2 separate regions of the Homo sapiens genome follow, and region 1 is linked to region 2. The links are contacts of gene promoters, found by promoter capture Hi-C in human tissues and cell types (Jung and others, 2019). All regions are on one chromosome and are shown on one strand. Each heading gives the region's core, a stretch centred on a gene start or on the middle of the fragment in contact. The rest is flanking DNA. Distances are from core to core; before and after follow the strand shown. Region 1 holds the start of FAM151B (family with sequence similarity 151 member B). Region 2 has its middle 12 kb from the start of SERINC5.

Region 1 (3,148 bases), core at 34-2,533, 220 kb after region 2:
GCTGTTGAATGGACACACATAAAATGTGGTATTTACAAACTGGAATTTATTCCAGCATAAGAAGGAAGGAAGTACTGATACATGCTAAAACATGGGTGAATTTTGAAAACATGCTAAGTGAAAGAAGCCAGTTACAAAGATCATACATACAGTCTGTGATTCTATTTACATGAAATTCCAGAATAGGCAAATTCATGAGACAGAAAGTAGATGAGTTGTTGCCTGGGGGTAGGAAGGGGGTAAATGGAGAGTGATTGCTTTGGAGTGATGAAAAATATTTTATCTGAAAGGCTGGGCAAGAATAACTCCCCTTTGTATTACGTGTCAGGTGATGTTAGTTATCCTAACTCTACCACTGGCAGATTGAGTTTTTTGGTCACAGAAGCTGAAAATGGCAGAGCTTTGTTGTTAATTCTGATCACTAGTTTGGCTTCAAAAAGTAATGAGTTAAGGAGGGCTAGAAAGACAGTGGATGGGAGGACCCAGTTGCTGAGAGCGTTTTCTGAGTGAACACTGGTAGAGAGACAGAAGGGGAGAGAAAACTTCAAGTTATCAGCTCGGTAACTTTGTACAAAAACTTATTTATTTATTTATTTATTTATTTGACAGTCTAGCTCTATCGCACAGACCGGAGCGCAGTGGAGCGATCTCGGCTCTCTGCAACCTCCACCTCTCCGGTTCAAGCCATTCTTGTGCCTCAGCCTCCCGAGTAGCTGGGATTACAGGCGCGCGCCACCACGCCAGGATAATTTTTTAAATTTTCAGTAAGGACGGGTTTTAACCATGTTGGCCAGGATGGTCTCGAATTCCTGACCTCAAGTGATCCGCCCACCTCGACCTCCCAAAGTGCTGGGAGTACAGGCCTGAGCCACCGTGCCCGGCCAGAAACACTGATTTTTATCAGTAATGATTCCACACCCTTTTAGGATATTACTAACATTTAAAAGAAAATATACCCAACTGTTGAAATTCGTGCTCCACTCCAGCAACTGCTTTCAATCGGAGTTCCATCCTCCGCCGCAGTATGCCCTAACGCAGCGTTATCTTCAGAGCTACCACCAGCTTCCGAAACCTTTCGGAGGAGCGCTTCGCCACCACCTGCACGGCGAAGCGGCGCGTAAACGAACCTCGAACGCCAGCCTTTGCGCCTGCGTGCCGCGGCTCCGTTTGGTTCCGCTTCGCTGGCGCCCGCCGGGCTCTTCCCCCGCCGAGGCCTGTGGTTTGTGGAGTCGAATTTCCCTGCCACCAGTGCCCGGTTAGCAGGGGCGCCAGCCTGGGCGCCTGCGCGGACGGCGGGCGTCGTCACCATGGCAGCATCCGCTGGAGGCCCAGGTAAGCGCCGAGCGCGCGGCCTCTGCCTGGAGGTGGGGCGCTTTGAGAGGCTCCGCCGGCCGTACCCTCCCTTTGCGGGCTCCCGCGGTCTTCCTTGCTAGGGACCTGGGAGCGCGCCGCGCAGAACCGGGCGGCTGGGCTTGGAGCCCGCTCTGCACTCGGGGCGCGCCCGCGATCGCCTGGCAAGGACCTTGGTTTGCCGGGTGGGCTCTAAGGGACAGGCGTTAGGGGAGGTCGAGAATGGCAGGGTCAGTGTCTTTTGAGGTCTGGGTTGGAAAGAAAGGAATGTGACGTTTCCCTAATCCTTAATTTCAGCCGACCGTATGGGGGCGGTCTGGGTCAGTAGGTTCCTCTTTGAAAGCTGGGGGAGGTTTGGGAATGCGGACTGGGCCGGGCCCGGCATAGTCCCGCTGCTGAGCGCGCTGCCTGGAAAGCTGGCAGAGTGTGCGGCTCGCTTGATTCCCCTTGGAATCAGGTGCTTCAACTCGCGGGACAGCAGTTCCGCTCTTGAAGGTTACAGTATCTTTTCTGTAAACTTAAGTAGTGGCATGAGACAACGTCAGTGACGCGTTCTTTCTTCAGTTTAGATTTTTTTCCCTAATTGTAAAAATAATACACGCTTTCACCATTCTGACTAGCAGGCTGTATAAATACAGGTTCTCTTCTGAATCGATGCACAGTTTACAGAATCTTGGAATAAAATGTGTGTGTAAGCGAAAAATGTCCAGGTCCTGATAAATGCCATTATAGAACATTTATAAAGTATATTAGTATAGGGAAATAGGAAAAAAAAATCCCCCAAATGCTGATACCCACAGGCACCACTACTAACTTTTTGGTATTTTCTAACAACCCTGACTCTTAAAAATAGAGTTAAGGTCATGGTAAACATAATTTTTAAAATCCTGCATCTTATACTATCCCATGTCACCAAGGTTTTTATAAACATAATTTTGAATGACTGAAGTGTTTTATACAATTATATTGTATACAATTATATTGTAATTAACCAGTCTCCTAATGTTGAACGTTAATCAGTCGTTTCCTGTTTTGTTTTGTTTTGTTAGAATTCATTCTGTAATGAACATTTTTGCATTGTTCTTCCTCAGTTATGTTTTTGGTTTGTTTTTATCCTGGACACGATTCTTGTAACTGAAATTACTGGATCAAAGGATGTGAACTTTTTTCTCTCTCTCTTTTTTAAGATCTGTGCTAAACCTCCGTAGAACATTTTTTCAGACCAGAGTTTTCCTTTTTTAACCCTTGTGCTCTTCTCAGTATAAATCCTTTTAATGCCTAGTTTTCCTAAGAATCCAAACAAATCTGGGACAAAGCTCACACTCAAGACTTACACCATTCTCACTCACAGGCTGTATAAATCCAGATTCTCTTCTGAATCGATGCAAGGTTTACAAAATCTTGGAATAAAATGTGTGCACAAGTGAAAAATGTCCAATTGCTGACAAATGCCATTTTTTAAAAAACAAATTTTTGGGCCGGGCGCGGTGACTCACGCCCGTAATCCCAGCACTTTGGGAGGCCGAGGTGGGCGGATCACGAGGTCAGGAGATCAAGACCATCCTGGCTAACACAGTGAAACCTCGTCTCTACTAAAAATCCAAAATAATTAGCCGGGCGTGGTGGCGGCGCCTGTAGTCTCAACTACTAAGGAGGCTGAGGCAGCAGAATGGCGTGAACCCGGGAGGCGGAGCTTGCGGTGAGCCAAGATTGCGCCACTGCACTCCAGCCTGAGCAACAGAGAGAAACTGTCTCAAAACAAAAACAAAAACAAAAATTTCTTCTCATTACCGAGTTA
Region 2 (3,334 bases), core at 241-2,740:
GTAATTTTAGTAGAGACGGGGTTTATCCATGTTGGTCAGGCTGGTCTTGAACTCCCAACCTCAGGTGATCCACCCGCCTCAGCCTCCCAAAGTGCTAGGATTAAAAATTGTTCATTTTTCTTGTTAACATTAATCTCTTAATTTTGCCTTCAATCTACCTTTAATTCCATCACCTCGCCTATTTCCTCTCTTCCAAGCATTTTCAGGTCTTCCTTTCTATTGAATCATTCTCAAGCTACAAACTGGGTCAGATTTTTCATAAATTAAACAACAAACCTCTCTTTGGCCCAGCTACCGTCTTTCTCCTTTTCTTTGTCCTAAAACTTCTACAAAACAAAGCTTGGTGCTCCATGCTCCAGATCCCTCTCTGGCTTGGCTCTACCCCTCCAGCTCACCCAAGATCACTGGTGCCTCCTGCAGCCTCCCACCTGCTTTTGACAGGAGTAGCTCCTTAAAATGGTTTACTATTTAACTGTTTATCCAAAGGCAAAAAGAAAATTTAATGTAACTACTAATTCTTAGTAATGACTATAATAGGCTAGCAAAGTATTGCCTGGTCACGATTTTTAGGGGAGCTGCTTAAGGAAACAAGAGAAATCCTTTTGTACTTCTCATCAGTTAGTTTGTAAGTGTGGAAAGCTAATGATTCTTCAGCACTGTAATGGTGCTTTAAAAGTTTTAAATGGTGCTTTTAAAGTTTTAAAAATGGTGCTTTAAAAGCACTGTAATGGTGCTTAGCGGATCATGAGATCAGGAGTTCGAGACCAGCCTGGCCAACATAGTGAAACCCCGTCTCTACTAAAAATACAAAACAAAAATTAGCCAGGCATGGTGGCGGGCGCCTGTAGTCCCAGCTGCTTGGGAGGCTGAGGCAGGAGAATCGCTTGAACCCGGAAGGCGGAGGTTGCAGTGAGCCAAGATCGTGACACTGCACTCCAGCCTGGGCGACAGAGTGAGACTGTCTCAAAAAAAAAAAACAAAAAAAACAGTTTTGCCTTAGTATCTTAAAGATTCTCCCCTTAATGCCTTTCACATTAATAATTTGCATGGCAAGTTCTTTGAGTGTAGATAGTACAAAGGAAAATCTCCTTTACACACCCCAGGGAACCCAAATTCCAAATTAATGAAGACAGTAGAGAGTTGCTCAACAGGTTTTGCAGCCCCGTTCAATCTTTCTGGGAACAAATTAATTTTTTTTTTTTTTTTTTGTGACACAGTCTCGCCCTTTCGCCCAGGCCAGAGTGCAGTGGTGCGATCTCGGCTCACTGCAAGCTCTGCCTCCTGGGTTCACGCCAGTCTCCTGCCTCAACCTCCCGAGTAGCTGGGACTACAGACGCCCACGACAGCGCCCGGCTAATTTTTTGTATTTTTAATAGAGACGGGGTTTCACCGTGTTAACCAGGATGGTCTCGATTTCCTGACCTTGTGATCCGCCCGCCTCGGCCTCCCAAAGTGCTGGGATTACAGGCGTGAGCCACCACGCCCGGCCACAAATTAATTTTTTAAGTCCTCTTAGATTAGGAGACTACTCTTGATATATTTTTGTAAGTTGAATCAGGTACACTCAGATTTTGAGTTATAATCCTTTGTGTGAAGGCAACTGGACTCGGCACAGTGGCTCACGCGTGTATCCCAGCACTTTGGGAGGCCGAGGTAGGATGATGGCTTGAGCTCAGGAGTTCCAGACCAGCCTGGGCAACATAGTGAGACCTTGTCTGTCTCTACAAAAAAATTTAAAAATTAGAGTGTGGTGGTGCATGCCTGTAGTCTCAGCTATGCAGGAGGCTGAGGCAGGAATATCGCTTGAGCTCACAGGAGGCTTGAACTCACAGGAGGCGGCAGTGAGCTAGGATCATGCCACTACCCTTCAATCTGGGTGACAGAGAGATACCCTGTCTCAAAATATATAATATATATTATATATTTTTCATATATATGAAAACTATTTAGAGAGGCTTTGCCTCCTTAAGTAAAATACATAATAATCTTTGAATTTTTTTTAAAGTCTCCATTTTCTTCACTTAGAAATAAATATTTGTGTAAATTATTATAGTCACTATTCAACTTTATTATAAAATTTAAAAAACATTTCTGGGCCGGGCGCAGTGGCTCATGCCTGTAATCCCAGCACTTTGGGAGGCCGAGGCGGGCGGATCACGAGGTCAGGAAATCGAGACCGCCCTAGCTAATACGGTGAAACCCCGTCTCTACCAAAAAATACAAAAAATTAGCCGGGCGTGGTGGCGGGTGCCTGTAGTCCCAGCTACTCGGGAGGCTGAGGCAGGAGAATGGCGTGAACCCAGGAGGCGGAGGTTGCAGTGAGCCGAGTTCACGCCACTGCACTCCAGCCTGGGCGACAGAGCGAGACTCCGTCTCAAAAAAAACCCAAAAACCATTTCTGAACAGAGCTCATTCCTGTGATTCTGAATACCATGGAAAATTATTCTGGCTTCTTTGGTTTTAAAATCAATTCAAAAAACTTTCCACATCCTGATTTCAAGTAAACACATTCAGCTATGTTTGAGGCTGAGAGGGGAAAGAAAAAAACACACAAAGGCGAGACAAGTCTCTCTTTTCAGTTTTCTTGGTTAATCCATTCTAATTAATTTCCTGAGAGGAAGTACAAGAGGTAAGCCCATTTCTTCAAATAACAGCACTGTGTGTTGACTTATCTTTTTAACGTGTATTTAAAGAGAGGACTCCTGTCAGTTTCTTTTAAATTCACTTTATAAGATGCATACTTTGAAGTAAACTCTCTTTGGAGGTGCTTGGTTTTAAAATAACCACCGCCAGCTAACTGCCTGTGCAACCATATAGTTCCATGAAAATCAACAAAAGGCCTTCATTGCGGGTTTCACTTGGAAGATGTTTACATTGTTCTATGAAGGTTAGAAAGGCGGAAGGAGCTCCCTGAGGTTTCACAGGAAGACAGTCCAGCCTATTTATTCATAATGGGATTTCAGTTACAGAACATTTAGATTCAACAGAAGGAGAATTTTAAATGGCTGAGAGAAGATGATAAGAAAATGTTCATAAACCATTTCATTTTGTTTCCCTCTTTAATGAAAAGGGAGAAAACACTCAATGAAGAAAGTTAATGACTCTGAAGTCCAAATGAGAAGTTTAGAAACAACTTCTTGAAAAAAAAGAAAAAGTATGCATTTATTGAATGACATTACTCAATCAATAATTTTGGATATTTTCTTTTTGTGTTTTTTTTTTCCATGCTAATTCTACAAACTGAAGGCAAGAATAAATGTTGTTTTTTTTAACCCCCCAAGACGGAGTCTTGCTCTATCACCCGGGCTGGAGTGGTGCAGTGGCATGATCTCTG

Evidence for each region. The method cuts DNA at HindIII sites, captures the fragments that hold promoters and counts their contacts. A contact is called where the count stands out against the background at its distance.
Region 1: a contact is called between the fragment with the promoter of FAM151B here and a fragment that was not itself captured in region 2, in 1 of the 25 tissues and cell types used here (liver).

Annotation. Positions count from the first base shown.
Region 1 is chr5:80,486,817-80,489,964 of GRCh38, forward strand. It overlaps FAM151B (family with sequence similarity 151 member B), which reads left to right and starts at 1,284. Exons shown (of 6, transcript NM_205548.3): 1 at 1,284-1,332. The coding sequence starts at 1,308. It overlaps FAM151B-DT (FAM151B divergent transcript), which reads right to left and starts at 1,130. Exons shown (of 3, transcript NR_172938.1): 1 at 962-1,130. RefSeq lists enhancers at 888-1,389, 1,390-1,889 and a silencer at 1,554-1,848. The HindIII fragment of the contact is 21,804 bases long and covers 1-3,148 here.
Region 2 is chr5:80,266,370-80,269,703 of GRCh38, forward strand. No RefSeq gene overlaps it. Among named protein-coding and RNA genes, the nearest start is that of SERINC5, 12 kb to the left of the region's middle. The HindIII fragment of the contact is 8,436 bases long and covers 1-3,334 here.